Linked DNA regions of Homo sapiens: regions 1, 2, 3, 4, 5 and 7 are each linked to region 6. The links are contacts of gene promoters, found by promoter capture Hi-C in blood cells and fetal thymus (Javierre and others, 2016). All regions are on one chromosome and are shown on one strand. The core of a region is centred on a gene start or on the middle of the fragment in contact, and the rest is flanking DNA. Distances in the headings are between cores, read along the strand shown.

Region 1 (3,306 bases), core at 794-3,293, 1.7 Mb after region 6:
TTTAATTGTTTATTTCAAAATCTTGGGGAAAACAATTTTAAGAATAGATGTAGATTATGTTTTAGGAACAGACTGTCCACAATCTTAATATGAAAGCCATATAATTTTCATGTGTATGTATGCATTGTTTGAAGCTTCTGACAACTTGATACTAAAAAAACAAGTTTCTTTCAATCAAATTCCTATAAAGGTTTTCTGACATCACTGTACCACATGTAATTAATCAAATGTTTTCTTATTGTCATAACTTCTTTTGTCGATTAAATGTTATCTGTTAATACCCATTCTCTATGATCAATTATCACTTGAGTGCTAGAACGCCTCTTGGAGCTACAATCTTTCAAGTGACTCCTTCTTTCCACATACCTTGGCATTTTCTCCCTCAAGTCTTAAATCCCTTTTTTGCAGTAGAAATGCTCCAGAGCTTTTAGTATTTCCCTCAGTGGTATACTGTGTATACTGCCACACTGAATGTGACCCTATATTATTCTCCAATATCCTTGGAAAATATTATTCCGTTTATTTTGAGAAATCTCAGACTTCCCAATGATGCTTTTAATATTGACATGATTACTATCCAACTCATCTTTTTGCTGCTGTCATAGTGTAGGTTGGGGTGGTTCTGTTTAACTTAAACCTTTATATTTCAACCCTGATGTTTATCTTTATCCCTGGGATGGGTTTTGAGAATTACTCTGTGACATTCACTTTTAGATATTTGAAAGCAGCTTTGCTTCATTGCAAAGTTACTCTCAAAAGCTGACAAGAAAGGCAATGCTAGTTCTTTAAGTTCTGGTGCTGTCAATACTCTAGGGATTGTTCTTTCACTGATTTGTATTTGTACTTGATTTTGTGCTGTGATTCTGGCAGGGAAATCACAGTGCTTTTGTTGTATGTGTATAATCTGGCAGTGCTTTTGTTGTATGTGTATAATCACATGCAAATTCTAGGGATGCCCTGAACTCTAAGTAAGCGGTAAAGGTCAGGCTCTACATGACTTGCTTAGCAATGGATGTTTAGAAGTTTGGTATACTTGCAGTTTTTCAGGTGGTTAATTCTAAAGTCCACTTAAAACCAATGCTGTTTTGCTATGAACAGTAAAACAGGCTACATTTTAAGTTGATTTATATAGATATTTTAACATTTAAGAACAATACTATACATCTTAATATTCACTTTTAAGATTAAAGATAAACTCATGAATACTTATAAAGTATTCACTATCATTCTAGCTAAGATCGGTGTTATAGTAGAAGGTAGTTATTTCTGTCAAAATACTTCGAGAGCCTACGCTGACTCAAAGATTACATGTTCTAGACTGACCATCTCCGGATAACCTCTATTTTAAGTGGACTCTGTCAAGCAATTCCTCTTCTTAAGCTCTGGTAGGAGAGCCAGGCTCGAGTACCCTTGGAAATGAGAGAAGCCTGGTTTGCTTTCTTTCATTATGAAAAACCCGGATCAAGGCATGTTTTTCAGCTGCTTCGAGGATGGTTTATTCTGGCAGGTGGAGGAGAGAAACTCTATACACACATAAGCATTTAGGGCACGACAAAGATGTCAACAGAATGAAGAGCCAAGTACAATTCTTCCCCTCACCGCCCAGTTCCCCGTCCTGCCGGGAAGAGCGCGGAGAAGCGACTTAAAGGTACAGGCTGTCTACACCCCCGCTGGCTAAAAAAGCTTGCAAATCAATCTTTTAAAATGGTTTATTGTGTTTTCCTCCATTCCTCAATAATCTGAGAGTGATGAGAAGACTAGACTGTTACTGTGGGTTTATTACAGCCAGCCATAGTCGTACAATGGGATATTTAATTTAAACACCCACAAGGCACTCAGCACAGCACACTGTCCTGTGCGGATTGCTGCTCGCCACTTCCAGGAATACCTTCCCACCCAGACCAAGGAAGGCAGCTCAGTCCAGCGCCTCCTGTCCCGCCCCGCCCCGCCCCAAGGGGAGGTGCCCAGCTCTCCCCGCCCCTCGCCCTCGCCCTCGCCCCGCCCCGTCGCGTAACCCGGATACACACCCACGCTCCCCTTTCACCTCGCGGCCGTAGGCTAACGTGGAAGTCGGACCAGCCGGCCGGCGGAAGAACCTAGAGCGCGCTGCCTGGCGAGTCAGGCGCGCGGGGCGGCGTTGGTGGTCTTCGCGGCGCAACTCGGCCTTTCCTGGGAGGGAGTGATGGGGCGCACCGGGGCCGGGGAGCGGGCGCCAGTGTAGCCCGCGCGGCGCCTGGCCCGGAGCGCGGCGGCTGCGGCGGCGGCGGCGGCGGGCGCTGGAGGCCTGTGAGAGCCGCAGCCCGGAGCGCCCGGCTTCCCACGCCATGGCCCCCATGGGCATCCGCCTTTCCCCACTGGGGGTGGCAGTGTTTTGCCTGCTGGGGCTCGGCGTGCTCTACCACCTCTACTCGGGCTTCTTGGCCGGCCGCTTCAGCCTCTTCGGCCTGGGCGGCGAGCCTGGCGGCGGCGCGGCGGGGCCCGCGGCCGCGGCCGATGGGGGCACCGTGGACTTGCGCGAGATGCTGGCTGTGTCAGTGCTGGCCGCAGTCCGCGGCGGCGACGAGGTGAGGCGCGTCCGCGAGAGCAACGTCCTCCACGAGAAGTCCAAGGGGAAGACGCGCGAGGGAGCCGAGGACAAGATGACCAGCGGCGACGTGCTGTCCAACCGCAAGATGTTCTACCTGCTCAAGACCGCCTTCCCCAGCGTCCAGGTGGGAGCCCACGGGCGGAGCGCCCACTCGAGCCGGGTAGCGCGTCTCGGCCCGTCGACTCTTAACAGTATGGGATGTGGAGCTTCTGGTTCCATTTTGTAGATGTGGAAATTGAGACGCAGAAGTTAACGTGCACAAGGTCAGACAGACAGCAGAGGAGCTGGGTGAGGTTGCACGTAGTCTGACTCAGGGCCCGTGCCCTTTTGGCTCGTCCTGGGTCGGGTGTGCGCCGTGTGTACCTGGGATCAGAAGGCCTTGAAACGAAAAGGCTGACAAAGTTAATTGCACCCGCAGCTTCAGGCTCCTCTGTAGAATTAAGGGGTTGGCTAAAATCCACCAAGACTCTCTATCCTTCCTTGATTTCATCCCTAGAAGGGTCGAAACTGGAGTACACATTTTCTGGGTGGCCTGCCAGTAGCCAGCTGAAAGACCGAGTCTTGTTGCAGAGCTGTTAGTGTGCGGGGCATTTGTGTGTGCGTGTGTGCGCTCGCGGGAGTCGGGGTGGGGGGGTGGGGGATGAGTATGCTCATTTCGCTGTCTTTTTGTCAGGACGCTCTAAAGTTTATAGTTTGCGGGCCCTTTAAGGAGGTACTTA
Region 2 (3,138 bases), core at 524-3,023, 1.3 Mb before region 6:
ATTAAACAAAACAAAGTTTATGACCCCAAACAGCTGTTACTAAGTGGAGGAGGAGGTTTTGTATAAGGATGACACTGAAAAATAAAACTAAAAATAGAATTTATTAATAAAATGTATAAAATTGTATTTTACATACATAGATAAAACTACACATTTACCTTACTTCAGTAGACGGTCACATTCAGAAGTTCAGAAGACAAAAAAATGTGAAGAATTTAGAGAAGTTCCAGATATAAAAATGATTTATAGTATTAAAAATAGAATCAATGAAATAAATACATAATGACCAGAAAACATTTTAGAGAAGAGAAGCACAGCTCCATTTATGTGTCGTCAAATCAATAGGCTTAAAAGATGTAAAACCCACCACACTTGATGAATAGCTTATAAATAAGTTTCCTCTTAGTGAACTAATCAGCAGTTTGAATCAACCAAATTTAGCATCACCTGAAGGAGAGGGCTAATTTTTAGCTAGAAACTTACAGGTTATATACAAGAAGAAAACGTGGCACTTGGAATAATCTTTTTTATTAATTGCTAAACATCTTCATTTCTAAGTCCTCATAGCAGCTATTTCAAAATTACCTTTAAAATGCTCCAGTTTGCTCTTCCTAGGTGATATCATTTAGTCCCACACTTTCAAATACCACCCATATGTATGCCGATGGCTCAAGTCTATTTCTGAACAAGATTTCTTACCTGAGCTTGAGTTTCCTGTACTCAACAGCACTTTGGACAATTGTAATTATTTGCCTCACGCTCACTGCATTCTCAACAAGGACGATGCAGAAATAGCACTTCTCCCAAATATGCTTTCCCTCGTCCTTAATGTGAATAACACAGTTCTTCCAGTTATTTAACTAGGAGTTCTCAGCATCATCCCCAATTCCTCCTTCTCTGTTAATCGATAACCCAGTCAAAGAGATTTTACCCCTCCCTACTATATTGGTTCCATCTCTTCCTTTCATGCTCTGAGTGAATCTGAGGAGCTCCTGGGGCAGATATTTGTCCTATCTCATCTCATCCTGGCTGTTACAATGGTCTTCGAAGCACCCTCATGTATAATTGTTTTTTCTTCCCTTCAATCTATTTTCCACATCGCCAACAATAAGTTTGTTTCAAAGACAGTCATTTGATTTCTCTTCTTAAAATTCCTTTCTCTGGGCAGCAGGATAAAATCTATCCTCCATGGAATGTCATTCCAAGCCATTTTGGATCTGATGTCTCCTGTAACTCTTACCTCAGTTCTTCGGATTCTCTTCTCATCTTTTAAACTCTTCTAGTACTAACCTTTCAGTTCCTTGAACATTCTGTACTCCCCCATGCCTTTGTGCCATTTTTCCTTCTATATTTTTGCCTAGAATGACCTCTACGTCCTCTCCATTTGGCCTTTTCAATTCACCATTGAAGACCTAGCTTAGCACAGCTTCTGCTATGAAAGCCTCCATGACCTCCCCAAGGAGGACAGACTCCTCAAGTGTCAAGGTGGTAGATGACAGTTTTCATTATTTAAAATTTACATTTCTTTAATAAATGCTAAGTTTAAATACTTTTATTCACTGTTGATTTCTCTGTAAGCTTAAAAAAGATGATTTTTTTTTTCTGTGTTCCTAGAAAATTATAAACTTCTGGAGATGAGTAACTGTGATCACTTCATCTCAGGCTGGAGTAACAGAGGCTTGATTTAGTGACAACTGATGGACAATGAGAGTTTCCAAACAAGAAGAAAAAATAAATAACTGGAAATCTTATTAGTATTAATGTATTAGCATTAGTATTAATGATGCAAGTATTAATTAATCCCACAAATACATTAAAATACTTACTACATATTTATCGTTATAATATGCATAACTCATTAAATCAATTATTTTATTTCTGTTTACCACTAAAGATTTTATTTCAGAAAATTTTTTTGCTGTTGTTTGCTTTATAGCACTCTCCCAAAGTGGTGCTATTTAAGCTTCTAGTAGATAGCTAATATCTATTCATTAAGCAGATCAGTCCCTTATAGTCCAGAATGTGTTTATCAAGATGACAGGAGCATTTCTGCGGAAAAGAAAACCATTTTCACATTTTTACTTGGAACCATATCACATATTGCTTGAGCCTTTGCTCCTATATTTTGTTATCAGACAACAGTCTCCAAAGATGGGCATTCCCACCTTTACATTTCTTTCTAGATGCCTTTATGAATTTATTAATGATTAATCAAACCATTTGTATGCATACACCACACCTTTTGCAATCACTTAGTTTGGAAATAACTTAGACTATCTCTTATAAATAAAACATGCAAAACAGACAAAATCAGTGCTTAACTTTTTTTTTTTTAATTTTACTTTACGTTCTAGGGTACATGTGCACAACGTGCAGGTTTGTTACATAGGTATACATGTGCCCTGTTGGTTTGCTGCACCCATCAACTCATCATTTACATTAGGTATTTCTCCTAATGCTATCCCTCCCCCAAACCCCCACCCTCCGACAGGCCCCAGTGTGTGATATTTCTCGCCCTGTGTCCATGTGTTCTCATTGTTCAATTCCCACCTATGAGTGAGAACATGTGATGTTTGGTTTTCTGCCCTTGTGATAGTTTGCTGAGAATGATGGTTTCCAGCTTCAACCGTGTCCCTGCAAAGGACATGAACTCATCCTTTTTTATGGCTGCATAGTGTTCCATGGTGTATATGTGCCTCATTTTCTTTTTTTTTAAATTATTATTATACTTTAAGTTTTAGGATACATGTGCACAATGTGCAGGTTAGTTACATATGTATACATGTGCCATGCTGGTGTGCTGCACCCTTTAACTCGTCATTTAGCATTAGGTATATCTCCTCATGCTATCCCTCCCCCCTCCCCCCACCCCACAACTGTCCCCAGAGTGTGATGTTCCCCTTCCTGTGTCCATGTGTTCTCATTGTTCAATTCCCACCTATGAGTGAGAATATGCGGTGTTTGGTTTTTTGTTCTTGTGATAGTTTACTGAGAATGATGATTTCCAATTTCATCCATGTCCCTACAAAGGACATGAACTCATCATTTTTTATGGCTGCATAGTATTCCATGGTGTATATGTGCCACATTTTCTTAATCCAGTCTATCATTGATGGGCATTTGGGTTGGTTCCAAGTC
Region 3 (3,318 bases), core at 587-3,086, 2.0 Mb before region 6:
TAGTAATCATCTATTACCCATGAGCAAATGCAAGTACATATGAATCCCCCTTAGAGAATCAGAGTTGTGAAAAGGTAATTTATTTCCTTTTTAGATTTCTTTATACTTCTTGTATTATATATGAGAGATATATATGGTTATTATGGTGATTTCCATGAAAACCAAATGTCTCCAAGTCCACAGTAGAATGTGTACAACAGTATCCGTAACTACTATTTGACCAGTGTCTTAAGGTTTACGGCACACATTATTCTCATTTGATACTTGTATCAGTACTGCGAGGTGGTCAAGATGGCAAATAGTTGCCCAATTTGTAAATGTAGAAACTAAGTCTCAGACATAACTCGAAGAAGGTATAAAGCTCGCTGACTTAGTCCTCAGTCTTTTAGTCCCACATCTCACCCTCTTTCCACTCTCCCTTTCTCTAGTCATCATATCTGCTTATCTCTACTAGGCTGGCAGTGTCTTTTCAATGCCCAATTAACTGGAAATTTCTGCTAAACCAACAAATGCAGCAAACAGCACTCTTAGATCTCATTTTAAATATGTTTATTTCAAGTAGTCACCTAATCAGGTTTGGCATGCTTATAAATAAGCCTGAAATGTACTGTATTTCCATTATAGATATACTCTTAAAACTAGCTATTAAAAATGTTTCATTATAAACACTTTAAAAAAATCCTTTACCATTCCATCAAGTTTGGAAATAAGATTTTTCAACAGGTTTAAAAAGTGAAAAATGCAGTTAGCTAGAATGTAAGTGAAGTGTAATTTTAGGACTTTTACCAAATTAGAGTGTCTAAAATGTTTTCTAAACTCAAAATTATTCAAGCCTACCTCCAAAAGAAAAGCCATTTCTCCAGCATTTATTATTCTCTTATCATTTGTTTATAATAGCTATTTGACAGGTCCTATAAACAGATAAGATTCATGTTTGAATAATATTTTTCTGTAGAAACAGTAAATAACTATAATGCCTATTTCTTCTGCTTGAAATATTGTTTTCATTAGATAAATTGAGCGGCATAAGAGCTTATGTTAATTATAGCACAGAGCATAGAAACAAATTTTTCTAACTAAAAGTGCATTATTACTTTACTTCTATATTTCATTTATTTTTTGCTTATTTTATTAAACTCTCCCCACTTATTTTTTATTTTTTATTATTTACTAAGTTCTGCTCCCTTCCACAAAAGTGTAACAAAGTAAACAGCCTAGTAGTACAGTAATGAAAAAACCAACAAGGATCTCCTTCAGAGTTAGGCTGAAGGGAAACAATTCGCAGTAGTTAAGATTTATTCCCCTATCCTCCCCTCTAAATATTACATAGCTCAACAAAGAATTCTTGTTTAACTTTATTGGAAAGTGTGTAGCAGAACCATGTTTAGAAATACTACAGATCCAAAGGCACATATGTTATCATTGCTAGCTAGGAGGGAGCACTGGGAAAATGAGAATTCCAATTTGTTACACTGACGTCTCATATAAACAATAGAAATATTAACAGTACCAGGATTTTTTTAAAAAAGCCAGTAACAAAGCAATTTCTTAACCTATCGATAATTACTAGCCTACAAATTAATAATAAGCCCAGCTTACTGCTCTTTTCTTCTGGTCCTTCCTTTAATGATTATTGGGGCATGAGTTTCAGCTGTTTTAAAGTTTCAGCATCTGAGTTTAAAGTGAACATTTCTGCCCATGTGCATTGAACATCGAGCCACTGTTCCTGATTTCATTTCACAAACCACACACACTTTCTGCTAAAAGAGATTTGTAATTGTTTGTGGTGTAAAACGTCATTATCAGTTTTAAATTTATATAATTTAAAAAAATGCTATTCTTATAAAGTGGAAAATTTTAAAACTGAAAAATACAGCAATATAAAATGAATCAATCAGCAAAGATCTCAGGCTACTTGTTTGGTTTTCTGCGCCCATCACTGTGTATCCTAAAAGGGTTATTGGGCTCTGCCAGTATTGTCAGGACCGTCCTAGGAAACCGGAACAATGCAGCCCATGCTCCAAAGGGCTGGCGTGGGACGCGCCCCAGGTCGGACCGCAGCCCACGGCAGTGCAAGGCTACCGGTGCGCGGCAAAGGAAGGGGTTCCACGGGCGCCCTTAACGCTCACGCTGGGGAAGGAGGTGCAGGAAACGAAAGAAGCAGGGAGGAGACGGAGAAGTGCTGCAGCAGCTTGAGTCGGCAAGTTGAGAGAAGTGAAAGCAGTCCAGGTTAGGCGGAACGCGAAGAAGGGCTGGAGGAGCGGCCCAAGGTAAAAGATCCAGCCGCAGACGAAAGCGGTAACTGGATTAGGAGGGCCCTATTAAGCGAATTTAAGGAGATAGGACTTTATCCCGAGAGCAACAGAGAGCCCATAAAAGATCGTAAACAGGAGTGACACGAACAGATTTACATTAAAATAAAGCATCTGACTGGCTGTGCTGTCGAGACAGGGGAGGGGCAAGGGCGGAGGCGGAGAGAGCGGTGAGCGGTCGCCGGAGGTCCAGGTGGGAGACGCCGCGCCCCGCACCGAGGTATGAGAGCTGCAGCAGCGACAACCAGGCGGCCTGAAGTGCAGACGCAAAACGGATCCCGGGGCTAGGTGAATTGGGGTAGGGGGATAATGACCAGATTGTAGTGTTGTCTTTGCTGAGACAGGAAACACGCGAGGCTTGTAGGGAAGGTGCCCAGCTCCGCTGAGAACACCTAGATTTTGAGATTTCTGTGGCACCCAAGTTAAATATGCCTGGACTTCAGGACACGGGGGTTCCGAAAGCAGGATGACGCGCCCGGAGGGGACGAGACGGTCCAGAGCACGCCCGGGAGAGAGGGCGGCCCAGACGGCACCGGCCTGCGCTCCAGCCCTCCCTCCCTCACACACGCGGAATCTCAAAACATGCGGTGAGACAGGTGGGGTATTCATTGGTCTAATTCTGCAGGTAGGGAAAATGAGAGCTTGGGGTAGGGGCTTATGCATGACCACCTGGCAGTGAATCTCCCAGCCAATACAAGCCTCACTCTACCCTCCTACAAATTAATTCAATGCATCCGATTGTTGAAACACATTCGTTCTCAAATTTTTAATAGAGTGCATTGCAGAAATGGCTTTTGCTTTATAAATGCCTTTTGTTCCTCTTTCTCCCAACCCTATGATAAAATATCAAGTGACCAACTTTCAATTTTAATAAATATCACCAGGCATCAGAAACATGTAAGCACTTTTCTCTTAAACCGAACGGAGGAAAATCTTAGAACGTGTGTCCACCAGTCAGTGAATAACTTCTCTAAGTTCTCTGTCCTGCATAAATAAACCTTGACAG
Region 4 (3,130 bases), core at 487-2,986, 1.9 Mb before region 6:
GTACCAGGCACCATCCTTCCTTTAAGGAGCTGGCTACAGCATGCTGCTATCAATATTCATTTTCTCCCTTAGATTTGGCTAAAAACACAGTGACTCTCAGCTATACCTGAAAATGAGAATATTTTAAAGTGAGAACTGGGAGAAACCTAAAGCTACATTATGGCTATGAAAAGTAAAAACTCAGAAGATATGGGGAAAGAAAGAGCAAAGGGGAATGGAGCCAGACCACCCTGTAATCAAGAGAATGGCCCGTGGAGTCAGACACCCCTAGATCTTTGTTCTACCACTGTATTCGTTCGTTTTCACACTGCTATAAAGATACTACCCGAGACTGGGTAATTTATAAAGAGGCTTAATTGACTCACAGTTCTGCATGGCTGGGGAGGCCTCAGAAAACTTATAATCATGGCAGAAGGGGAAGCAGGCACATATTACGTGGCGGCAGGAGAAAAACAGAGTATGAATGAGGAACTGTCAAACACTTATAAAACCATCAGATCTCATGAGCACTCACTATCACCAGATCAGCATGGGGGAAACTGACCCCATGATCCAATCACCTTCCATGGGATCCCTCCCTCAACACGTGGGGACTACAGAAATTAAAATTTGAGATGAGATTCGAGTGGGACACAGAGCCAAACCAGATCAACCATCTACTAAGATAATTTGCCCCAAATGACACAACTCAGTTTCTCCATCTGTAAAACAGTAATCTCATGTATCTGTTGAAGAATTAACAGATAATAAGCTTTTGATATGGTGTAGGAACTATAAAAAGTGTGGAGGATTACTCATGAGAATCTGCTATACAGACCACAATGCCAAAAGCTAATGTGATGGAGAATTCCATACAAATTCAGTCTGGCTACACCTTAGGGATTAAATAAAATCCCCCAAAGCAGAAAACTTGGCAGCAGAAAAAGAAGAATCAATTTTAGAAAAATAAGCAAAAAAGGCCCATGGCTTACCAGCAGTGGAATGTTACAGTACTACCATCAATACAAACAATACTTTTTAAAAATACTGATGTCTGGGACTCCCCGGAGAGTGACTAAAACAGCATTTCCATGGATGAGAACCAAATATTAATAGTTTGAGTTAAGAAACACTGCAGAAATTAAAAGGGGGCTACTATGTGTGCATTACAGGAGAGAGAATCTAGAACCTTTTTGCCAGGGATCTCTTACTTACAAGTGAAAAGTAACAGCTAAAACTAGAGTATTTTAAAACTTGCAAATAATCAAGGCTAATGAAATCAAATGGGACAGTTTCTTTTAGAAAATGTAAAGTTAGGAGAGGGACAAGAGAGGTCTGCATATGGCTGCATCTTTTGTAGCAAAGGACACAGCCTCATAGACTAAAGTGAGCAGAGAATAACAAATGAAGTAAGCACAGCTGGGCCAGAAGGAAAGGGAAAAACAGCTGAGATGGCAAAATTAGGGTCTGCTCAAATAAAACATCAAACTGACTGGCTACTGCAAGAGGAGGAGAGCTGAAGAATTAAAATGAAGGAGGGAAGCAGTTGGGGAGATAAAAGAGAAACTTTCATGCTGGACAGGAATGGCATGGGACAGAAAGGACAGAACACCAATTGAGAAGATGAGTAGGGAGAGTCACCAGAGGAGTTTAAGAAAGGTAAAAAGGAATGAGAACAACAGGGACAATAGCCTCTATGATTCACTATAAAGTCTCAGGCACGGTATAAATATTAGGGGGAGGAAGTAGTAAATAAACTGGGTTAGAAAACAGACAGAAAAGAGCTAGTCAAAAATCCTGAAAGACTACCAATAATATATATAAAGCAAAAATTTGGAGGCCGAGGCAGGCGGATCACGAGGTCAGGAGATCGAGACTATCCTGGCTAACATGGTGAAACCCCGTCTCTACTAAAAACACAAAAAATTAGCCAGGCATGGTCATGGGCGCCTGTAGTCCCAGCTACTTGGGAGGCTGAGGCAGGAGAATGGTGTGAACCCGGGAGACGGAGCTTGCAGTGAGCCGAGATCGCGCCACTGCACTCTAGCCTGGGCGACAAAGCGAGACTTGTCTCAAAAAAAAAAAAAAAAATGAAGGTTAACAAAAGTATATCATCTAAATTGTAAATGATGTTAAAAGATATGTTTCAGCTCTCATTTGATAAATGAAACAGCTAAGCACATCTAAAAATGGGCAAAACTAAATAATACAGTTTAGGAATCCATAAGTGATACAACTATGAAGAAAAGCAGGGGAGGATTAATATAAAATTCAGGCCAGTGGAAAACTGGTTGAGAAAGAGACATATGTAAGAATGTGGAGTCCTTGGCCGGGCGTGGTGGCTCATGCCTGTAATCCCAGCATTTTGGGAGGCAGAGGCGGGCGGATCACGAGGTCAGGAGATCAAGACAATCCTGGCTAACACAGTGAAAGCCCGTCTTCACTAAAAATACAAAAAATTAGCCGGGCGTGGTGGCGGGCGCCTGTAGTCCCAGCTATTCGGGAGGCTGAGGCAGGAGAATGGCGTGAATCCAGGAGGCAGAAGTTGCAGTGAGCTGAGATTGCGCCACTGCACTCCAGCCTGGGTGACAGCGAGACTGTCTCAAGAAAAAAAAAAAAAGAAAAAGAATGTGGAGTCCTTTTGCATGGGTGTTTATCATTATTCTTTAAAACTATTAAACTGTGTATATGTATTTTATATATTCTTTTATATGCATGCTACATCTCAATAAAAAAGCTTTAATAGAATTTTTCTACCTCTGAACTTCCCAGGTTGTTTTTTGAAGGTAATTCTAACAAATCTGCTTATATAATAAAATAAAATGACTAGTACTTCTGGCCGCAGGTTTTGCAACATTCAGCTCCACCTCAAATCTAGTCAATCAAAATCTCTAGGGGTTGGGCTGCTGAATATTTTTTTTTTTAAACAAACACTCCAGTGATTCACAAGAATCTAAAGAAACTCAAATTTGAGTCTCCCACAGGAAGAGGTCTTCCTTCTGTTTTTCTCTAGAGCTATTGAGAATCTAATCCCCTTCCTTCCCCAATCCTTCCCCAAATCCTCTACAACTTTGCTCCTTACCTCCCCTTCTCTTGTATTTAACCTTTCAACCTCAAGTCTCTCCTATCTTAAAATACAAACACACACTCA
Region 5 (2,977 bases), core at 3-2,502, 1.4 Mb before region 6:
AAAGAGCAGGATATTTCTAGGAAAGCTTTTTAAAATCCTTCTGTTCCTTATATCATAGATTTTTTCCCACAGACTTAGCAAATATTCACCATGTGCCCACAACGAGCCAGGGACTGTGGAAGGTTCTGGAAATGCATTGATGAACAAGATAGCCAAGATCCCTGACCATATTCAATCAGTCTTTTGCCCTGCTCTACACATAGATGTATTGTATCCTCTTGTAATCTGGTTCGACGCTAGGCATATTTCTCCAGATTTAAGTAAATAAAACTGCAACATGACTGAATCTTTCATTTGGTCTTTGGCGCCTGCAGCAGAATCTCTTGGTGGCATTAGCCCAAAGGGTCAGCTAATCTGAGTTTTTCATGTCACCAGGTTGGGAATCATTATGGTTTGATAGATGTTAACTTGTCCACATTATTCTCTTCCAAAATAGAAGCAGAGTAAGAAATAATTACTTTCTCTTTGAAAACCATGGAAGCTTGAGAACTAACATGCCCATTAAAATAATTGTAGAATACTTGCTTCTATTATCTAGTAGTTATTTGTTTGCAGCTTGGCATCCTGGGTTTGTGTTCTTCAGAGATTCAGGATGTTCTTTAATGATTAGGACTCACTGTGTTTATGATACATATTCACTCACATTTTTCAAAATTGATGTGGGCATGAATTGGGCTGGATTTAGTCTCCTTTTTCTTTCCAGGTGAGCTTAAAAATCCAAAGCGGGGGGAAACCTCTTAACAGAGCAGAAGCCTTGGATGCATTGTCCCTGCTCCCCCCACCCCACCCGTATTCATTTCTAACTAACGCTTTTCATCTCAGAGGGTACATGAATATGTAAGTGCAAGTGCGGCTTATTGTGAACTCCGAACAAAGAGTAGTGCTGTAGATTTCAATGTGTTTGGACCATAATGTGCTGCTTTCTTGATAATGGGCTCTCTTGGCATTGAAATGAAAAGCAAACATATCATTAAGAAGGCGCTCCATAAAAACTGTCTGTCATATATCTTAAGCTTCATTAGTTTAGATTAATGACTTACTTGATATACATGACAATAGGTGAAGCAAATCTTTGTTTATTTATTGACAATTAAATGTGGCTCTGACACGCATAAACAGGCTTCTCTCTGATTAGTTCCATGTTTTAAAGTAACTTTGTGTTATAAAACTTGTTAACTACAGTATCATTTTATTGAGCTCTGCTCGGTGAATGATGTGATCTACATTGAAAGGCATCAATATTGCAGCCATTCCTGGCAGTCACTGGAGCATTGTGCTCACAGATTGGAGTTGATATCTCATTGTACAAATTCAGGGACCCAGAAAATGTCCAGTTATTGAGCCTCTGCCCTGCGAGGACAATGTTCTATTCATGGAATCTGGGTCCAAGGTCACAGACTGAAACCTGAACGAAGGGTAAGATTCAAATTCGTTTCATGATTTTGCCGAGGACCTCCCTGAAATTCAGTGTTTTGAAAGCATGAAGCTTTTCCCAGAGTATCCTGTTAATGCAATGCAAAGAAGCATATACATAAATATAGTGCGTTCTAATTAGGAGGCCGCTAGAGGACCAAACAAGCTTACCTTTAAAAATAGATCTTGATAGGTCTGATATTATATTGATTCAGATGACATAAGAAAACTTCCAAGAACACTTCATAATAAACACACCATTTTAGAAGAGGCTGGGAAACCAGGGAGAGGAAAAGAGGAGGAAAAGGGTAGAAGGGCAATGTGGCATTAAATGTATCTGCATGCTTGGCTCACTGAAATATTCGTGGTTTGCCTTTCCAGGAATTCAAAGTTGGAGGCTGTCAGGGATAATCAGTCCTTCCCATCACAGACACCCCATGGTTCTCCTTAATAGCTCCCTTTTATGTGCCGTCAGTCCTCAAAAATATATTTAGAAAAGACTTATTTAGAAGGAGGCATAAAATAAAATCCATGTTGCAGTTGAATATTACAAATGATACTGGGGCTCCATTCTGTGCTATTAGGCTCCCTGTAGAATTTCCATACAAAGTAAAAAATAAACTCCTAGCCAGGTCGAAGGAGAACTCTTTGGTAAAAGAAACCATCTTCTTCTACACAACCACTCACGACATCGTGGGAAGGCAGATCTCCCCAGACACTGGAATTCAGTAAAACATCTTTGCTTTCCTTAGGAAATATTAGGGAAAAAAATGCACACCTACTTATCTTTTCTATGGAATATCCTGGGACAAAGTTTGAATGCAAAGAAAAGGATAATGTTAATATAAGCATTATCCAATTTTACCTACAGCCCTTGAGGTAGCCTGTCCCTAGAAGATGACTTTGCAATGATTTTGCTCTTAATTGTGGTGTTAGCACTTCATTTGGTTAATATGGAAAAATCCATCGTTATACTATTGAAGAGTAACCACTCTGCTCCTTAAATTACTTTCTCCCTTCTTTTCATTATGAGCCATTCTTCCCCTTCTCACACCACCCCCTCTCCCTTAGCCTCAGTCCAGATTACAGCCTCATCAACAGCCACCTTAGCCTGGGACCATTGGTCTGGTGTGTGCAAAACCAGAGGACAGGGTCTTCAGAGGGCAGTGTGGGGCAGCAATAAAAAAAGTTGCTCTCATTTCATACTCTTCTACAAAATTTGCCCTTTTGAATTGTGCTAACCCCTCCCAGAGGAGGAAGGCAAACACACTGAGGCCTGGGGACAGGGTAGCTTCTGGAGGGACCAGGACTGAATGGGGAACTGGGGATTAAACGGTACCATCTTTACCTGCTCCCTGGTTGCTGACTCTTTTTTCTTCTCAATGGTCAAAAACCAGCAAAAGCATGAATGTGCTGAGTTTTGGGCTTCCCAGGCACTTCGATGCTCAGCTTTTCAATGGTTCAGCTCTCATTCTTGCCCCGGGATCCTTTGGCAGGTTGTTAAAGTTCTCACATAATAATCGCTCTCATCAGTTAACAAGGAAGAGCACCTGGGTGACCAGCT
Region 6 (3,381 bases), core at 356-2,855:
GTACCCAGGTAATTTTTATTTTTTATTTTTTGTAGAGACAGGGTCTTGCTTTGTTGCCCAGGCTGGTCTCGAACTCCTGGCTTCAAGGAATCCTCCAGCTTCAACTTCCAAAAGCATTGGGATTACCGGCATGAGCCATCACTCCAGCCCCTTAGGGCTTATATACCATAGGGGAGGGGTGGTTCAGAAGGGATGTGTAGGACAATTGAAGTATAATAACATCAAGTTGTTTGAATTAAGGACAGAACATACTGGGTAGATACCTGCTCTTACACAAGGAACAATAGATAAAGTAGAAATCTTAGAGGCCTTCCCAGAACTGGGGTCAATCAGAAGTCAACACGGAGGATTAGCTTCCAAGATGGAGCTGCTTTCGCCTCCACATCCAGCAATTCCACTCTTAGATTCCAATTCCACTCAACAGAAATGGAAACATAGGTCCATAAAAAAACTGTACATGACTGTGTACAGCAGCCTTATTCACAATAGCCAAAATGTGGAAACAACTGAAATGTCCATCAACTGATGAATGGATAAACAAAATGCAACAGAATATGCTCCAGCAATCTAAAGGAACGAAGTACTGTACAGATACATGCTACAACATAGATGAACCTTGAAAGCATTACGCTAAATGAAAGAAGCCAGACACAAAAGGCCACATATTGTATGGCTCCATTTATATGAAATATCCAGAATAGGCAAACCCATAGAGACAGGAAATTGATTATTGTTTGCTAGGGCTGGGGTTTGGAGGGTAGAGTTAGGAAGAGTGACAGCTAGAGGGTATGGGTTTCTTTTACATGTGATGAAAATGTTCTCAAATTGTGGTGATTGTTGAACATATCTGGAAATATACTAAAAATCGCTGAATGGTATACTTTAAATGGTTGACTTGTTTGGTATGTGAGTTATATCCCAATAAAGCTGTTATATAAAAAAAAATCATGCGAGCAATTATCTCAACAATCAAGAGACTGTGTTAAAGATTCTTTGCTTGGCCAAACTTCAGTTAGGCTTCTGAATCTTCTCCCAGGTCCTTGTGTGCACTTCCTTGTAAATGCAGTGTTAGGAAGTAACACTGCCACGGCAGTTTAGCAAGAATCCCCCACCCTCCATATGTGATCAAAATTCTTTACTCCTACCCTTAGTATCTGACCCCCTGGCCTGCCTTCACTGGGACTCCTGTTAGGTTGGTTCAGCCAGAATTTCCCCCAGAATTGATGTTTCCTCTTAGCAGTTTTCCGAACACCTGCTCCTTGCTCCTTGGCTATAAATCTCCACTTATTCCTGGTGTATTTGGAATAGTTACGACTGAGTTGCCTTCACCCCTTTAACTTCCGTCTTTTTTTTTTTTTCACAATGGAGGACACAAAACGTTGTTATTTCAAGTCTTTGTGGCCAACAGATTGGTGGTTTATGGGCCAGCATCCCTTTTTATGCGTAAAATATTTAAAACGCAGCCTGCAATGGTTGGTAAAGTGGTGAAACGTTTAGTGTGTGAGGTCGGATCCTGGTCTGGCCGCTGGCCCTGGCGATCCTCTGAGGCGGCCTGAGTTTGGGGCGCCTCGTGTCACCGCGCGCCCCTCCTCCGGGCCTGAGTCACGGTGCCGCCGGAGTCCCCACGCGAGGATGCTGCGGTGAGCGCGGCCGGGACGCCGCGTCGGGCTCTCGGCCGCCCAGCGGCGCCGCAGGGGAAGCCAGGCCGGCAGCCGCGCGCTCCCCAGCCGGCCACCAATCCCGCCCTCCCCGGCTCCTCCGGACCTCCTCGGCAGGCGGCGGCGGGGCCTGCCTGTGCGCTCTGCGCCCGCCCGCGCCTACCCTCCATGGCGTTTATCCGGAAGAAGCAGCAGGAGCAGCAGCTGCAGCTCTACTCCAAGGAGAGGTGCGCGCCCAGCTGAAGAAGGGCCCAGCCGGGGGCCTAGTCGGGGCCGGTCGTGGGGACGCCGGCCGGAGATCTGAGGGACGGGAGGCGGCGTGGGGGCCGGGCACGGAGGCAGGGGCCGGACGCGTGTCCAGGGCCTGGGCTGGGGGCTGTGGCGGAAACCTGAGGTCGGGGTGAGAGGCCGGGGGCCTGGTCTGGGCCGGAGCCTGCCGGGGACAGGAACTGGATGACGGGCCAGGCCAGATTCCACCGCGGAGCCGAGGCATGCCGAGCTATCCGGCAGTGCAGGTCCCGGCGGCCGCGGGCAGCTCACCCGGAAGGCCGCGCGGGGTCCGGGCGTGGATCCCGGCACGCGAGCCCGGGCGTTCGCAGGGGAGGGTGAGTACGCTGCCCGGCGGGCACCCCCTTTCTAATCCTTCCCCTTAATCGGGTCCAGGCACTCGGCGCCGGCGCCGCAGAGTTGGTCGCCGGGCGGCACCGAGCAGGCCGGCGACCACCCACTCGCATTGCCGCGCCTTTTTCCTGCCGACTCCTTTAGACACAGGACTAGCTCCATGCCCTGGAAGGCTGGGAGGGGGGCCGCCGGAAAGGCCTGATTCTGAGGAAAGCCAAGGTCCTGCCTCCCAAACACTTGCTCCCCGCGCAGTGGACCTTGTGTTGGAAAGCTTTGCAGTCGAAATCGCGGTGCGGCAGCGGAGCACTCATTCTCACCAGCATCCCAGTAAGGATTTGGGATCCCTTGAGCTAAAATGGTCTCACAGCAGTTCCCTTTCAGATATGCTGGACCTGTCCCCAAGGGAAGTCTCATAAGAAAGCTCACTTCGGCTCTATGTATAGTTCCCAGGGCATTTTTGGTGACAGAAACAACTTGCTCGGTCTGCAGCTCAGATGCCAAAAGGAAAGGGGGGCTGAATCATTTTACAGACACACTGTTTTGATTGTGAGAGCCACAGATCTTCCAGTGCTGCTAGCCTGTCACGTTGTCTCATCAGTGAATACCAGCAAAGCAGGTTACACGTGGGAATACAAGTGCAGACTTCAAGATTTGTCTACACTTGTTTTATAAGGGTTGACTCGACCCCTTTGATCCAGACATTCATCTTTCTCTAATCTGTAATGTTGGTCTAACCAGTGTGTCCACAGTACGAAATGTCATTTTTCTACTGTAGAGAAGAAGATACGATACACAGAAAACGTATCTCAGATATGGCTTTCAAAAATGTTTTTGGTGATGTGATTAGGTTTTAGTCACAGAAAGGGTTGTTTATTAAATAACTGAGCCCTAACTATGTAACTCACACTTGGGGATGCCCTTCTGACTGAATTTGTAATGCATTTTTCTTGTGGAAAGAGCTTGAGTGGAGATTCTTTGTTTAGTACCAACAATATTAAGACTTGTTGGTGCTCTGTATTGAGTGGGTGAACATTCATATTTAAATTGTGAGAACTTTGACACACTTGAATTGGCATCATGTTGTATGATATGAGTCATTCGT
Region 7 (2,926 bases), core at 295-2,794, 1.8 Mb before region 6:
AGAAGTTTGTTGTGGTTTTGGTTTTATATACTGCTAGAAATATTTTATTTTATTTTATTTTATTTTTGAGATGGAGTCTCACTCTGTCACTCAGTCTGGAGTGCAGTGGTGCAATCTTGGCTCACTGTAACCTCTGCCTCCCAGGTTCAAGCGATTCTGCCTCAGCCTCCCGAGTAGCTGGAATTACAGGCAAGTGCCACTACGCCTGGCTAATCTTTTTGTCTTTTTAGTAGAGGTGGGTTGTCACCATGTTGGCCAGGCTGGTCTCAAACTCCTGACCTCAAGTGGTCTGCCTGCCTCAGACTCCCAAAGTGCTGGGATTACAGGTGTGAGCCACTGTGCCCGGCCTGCTAAGAATATTTTAAATAAGGAACTGACAAATAATTATTTTAGGCCAGTGCTGTGGCTCAAGTCTGTAATCCCAGCTACACAGGAGGACTGCTGGAGGCCAGGAATCCCAGACCAGCCTGAGCAACATAGCAAGACCCCATCTATAAAAAAAATAAAAATAAATTAGCCAGGCATGGTGGCATGCAGCCTTAGCTACTTGGAAGGATCACTTGAGCCCAGGGGTTTGAGGCTACAGTGAGCTATGATTGTGTCACTGCATTGTAGCTGGGGTGACAGAGTGAGACCCTGTCTCTAAACAACAACAACAACAATAATTGTATGGTCATTAGCAAGCAGTGAGTTTTTGATTAAAAAAAGAAAAAAATAATTGTGTAGTCAGAAAAGGAAGATCAAGCATATTTTTTCAGTTTTAAAAAAAGTTATATGCAAAGCAATTGTTTTAAGGCTAGAATACAATGACAAAGTAGATCCTAAAAAGGATTTTTTTTTTTTTAAGAATACTTGCTGTTTGTTTCCATTCCACGTCCTTAGGGATTTACGTGAACAACAGAGTAAACCGTTTATTTATACTTTTTCATGAACTTTGAATCATTTTTTAGAAACTGAATGTTTTCCTGCCTGTGAAAACTCTTATATCCAAATACTACAGCAGCTATTATCATTATGAATAACATTGTATATTATGCATCATTTTGCATTTTAAGTTAAGTTTAACAAAAGTTACACTAAATGGGGGTGGTGAAAGTACTGCCATTAGCCAAGCAAGTTTAAGGTACAAACCAGGAGGGAAGCTTCACTATCATTTGATTCCCCAAAAGTACCTTTTCTGATACTACAGTTTAGTAATCTTTATTAGAAGAACTGCAGCCTTATGTAATTTTGAAATCTTATCTTGAAGTTTTCATTACCAGACTTACTGAAGAACATTTTTTGCTCTTAGTATATGGGTATTTTAATTTTCTTGATACTGTATCTGATACAAATTATAATACGAAAGTGTCCGTTTGAAAGAGCAGAGTATTCAGCATTGACACACTATACTTTTTGTTGATTTTTCCTTTAGAAAAATCAATTATAGACAAAAACCTCTTTAGAACTAGATCCTTCTTCCTCTCCTTGAATTAACTGCATGCATTTCTGAAAGGTTCTTCTTTCACTTTACCTCAAAAGACACTGAATCCAAACACCAGTGGTGAGATTGTCTGATCTGAACTCTGAGATAAGCTATTTTGCTTTAAAAAAACAAAAAACAGACAGGTTATTGAATTACTAATTGAAATACAAAAACTAAATTACTTACCTTTCCTTTCTTGGAAACAAGCAGAGATGAGGAAGTATACGTGTAACATGGTTTGTTATAAGTGACCCAGTAGATAGGAAATTGAAAGTGGACTCAGTTTACAGGGATCCTTCAAGTAGTGTTAATTCACTCAAGAAAATTTTAAAGTTATTTAAGTAAATAACAATTTAATGATTTATTTAATGTAATCATATGAAAAAGAACATTTGAGACCTGTCATTCAGATGCCAGGCCCTTTGCCAAGTGCTATAGATAAAGAGAGAGGTAGACTTACCATGAACCTAATGAAGCTTAATTTCAGGGCCCCTAATTTGCAGAAACATCTTTTAATGCAAATGTGTTCACATGATCAGTTTTCTATTTTTGCAAATAAAAAGTTGCTAAAGTAAGATATTTAAACCTTAATCAGTGAATTCTATTGTCTCTCTTTAGTCTTCACTTCCATCTGTGACACTTGCCCTTGTGTTGAGAGGTGTTAGAGAATATTCACAGATCTTTTTTTTTGGTACTGGTTAAGGAAGAGTATTGTTGAAGATACACTTAGTTTTGTAAGATATATTAATTTGATCACTTGCACGTGTAGTTGAATTATTGCAAAGAATTGTCCAGTATAGAAATGGCTTCCAGAGACACTGCAATCTCTACTGTGCTGATTCACACTGCATCATATGATATAGAGGTTGTATCTTAATTTAGCATGGTCCTACTGGATTTGCTTTTTATTACTAAATTACTAAATAACCTTAGAGACTAAAGACAATACAGCATTGTGAGATAATTAGGGGGTATTGTCTTTAGCCTCTAGGGTTGTGGTAAATCTGGGCATCGTCTCACTGGATTCTCGACTCAGGATCTCATAAGGCTAAACTCAAGGTGTTGGCTTGGTTGCATCCTCATCTGGCATTCAGAGTTCCTTTCCAAGCTTACATAGTGTGGCCAGATTCATCTCCTTGTAGTCATTATTTCCTTGTTGGCTCTTACCTGGGAGCTGCTCTCAGCAACTAGAGGCCACTTGAACGACTTACCACGTGACCTACTCTATTTCCAGAGCTGGCAATAGAGAATCTCTCTCATTTTTAATCCTTCATGCTTTGAATCTCTTTGTCAGGAAGGGTGCTGTTCCCTTTAAGGACTCAACTGATAAGATCTGGCCCATCCAGGATCATCTTTCTATCTTAAGGCCAACTGATTTGGAACATTATTCACATCTACAAAATCCCTTCACAGCAGCACCTAAATTAGTGTTTCAACAACTGGAAAAGCATATGTGTATGC

What was found. The method cuts DNA at HindIII sites, captures the fragments that hold promoters and counts their contacts. A CHiCAGO score of 5 or more calls a contact.
Region 1: a contact is called between the fragment with the promoter of BPNT2 here and the fragment with the promoter of NSMAF in region 6, in 1 of 17 cell types (naive CD8 T cells). The highest score is 5.8, in naive CD8 T cells.
Region 2: a contact is called between a fragment that was not itself captured here and the fragment with the promoter of NSMAF in region 6, in 1 of 17 cell types (total B cells). The highest score is 5.8, in total B cells.
Region 3: a fragment that was not itself captured here is called in contact with the fragment with the promoter of NSMAF in region 6 in 2 of 17 cell types (fetal thymus and non-activated CD4 T cells); the score reaches 6.4 in fetal thymus.
Region 4: a contact is called between a fragment that was not itself captured here and the fragment with the promoter of NSMAF in region 6, in 1 of 17 cell types (M0 macrophages). The highest score is 9.1, in M0 macrophages.
Region 5: a fragment that was not itself captured here is called in contact with the fragment with the promoter of NSMAF in region 6 in 1 of 17 cell types (naive B cells); the score reaches 6.9 in naive B cells.
Region 7: a fragment that was not itself captured here is called in contact with the fragment with the promoter of NSMAF in region 6 in 2 of 17 cell types (M0 macrophages and activated CD4 T cells); the score reaches 7.3 in M0 macrophages.

The regions. Positions count from the first base shown.
Region 1 is chr8:56,992,604-56,995,909 of GRCh38, reverse strand. BPNT2 (3'(2'), 5'-bisphosphate nucleotidase 2) reads left to right here and starts at 2,043. Exons shown (of 5, transcript NM_017813.5): 1 at 2,043-2,711. The coding sequence starts at 2,325. RefSeq lists a silencer at 1,927-2,486. The HindIII fragment of the contact is 2,693 bases long and covers 1,686-3,306 here.
Region 2 is chr8:59,955,241-59,958,378 of GRCh38, reverse strand. No RefSeq gene overlaps it. Among named protein-coding and RNA genes, the nearest start is that of CA8, 320 kb to the left of the region's middle. The HindIII fragment of the contact is 385 bases long and covers 1,581-1,965 here.
Region 3 is chr8:60,652,736-60,656,053 of GRCh38, reverse strand. No RefSeq gene overlaps it. Among named protein-coding and RNA genes, the nearest start is that of CHD7, 24 kb to the left of the region's middle. RefSeq lists an enhancer at 2,128-2,327. The HindIII fragment of the contact is 5,465 bases long and covers 1-3,318 here.
Region 4 is chr8:60,522,633-60,525,762 of GRCh38, reverse strand. The region is part of intron 1 of RAB2A (RAB2A, member RAS oncogene family); the gene reads right to left. Among named protein-coding and RNA genes, the nearest start is that of RAB2A, 7.2 kb to the right of the region's middle. The HindIII fragment of the contact is 1,965 bases long and covers 754-2,718 here.
Region 5 is chr8:60,058,313-60,061,289 of GRCh38, reverse strand. The region is part of intron 2 of LOC105375861 (a long non-coding RNA gene); the gene reads right to left. Among named protein-coding and RNA genes, the nearest start is that of CA8, 220 kb to the left of the region's middle. The HindIII fragment of the contact is 473 bases long and covers 1,016-1,488 here.
Region 6 is chr8:58,658,077-58,661,457 of GRCh38, reverse strand. NSMAF (neutral sphingomyelinase activation associated factor) reads left to right here and starts at 1,605. Exons shown (of 31, transcript NM_003580.4): 1 at 1,605-1,885. The coding sequence starts at 1,827. RefSeq lists silencers at 1,528-1,867, 1,878-2,327 and enhancers at 2,039-2,601, 2,778-3,067, 2,602-3,165. The HindIII fragment of the contact is 3,520 bases long and covers 1-2,552 here.
Region 7 is chr8:60,505,353-60,508,278 of GRCh38, reverse strand. The region is part of intron 1 of LOC124901949 (a long non-coding RNA gene); the gene reads right to left. Among named protein-coding and RNA genes, the nearest start is that of RAB2A, 10 kb to the left of the region's middle. The HindIII fragment of the contact is 799 bases long and covers 1,145-1,943 here.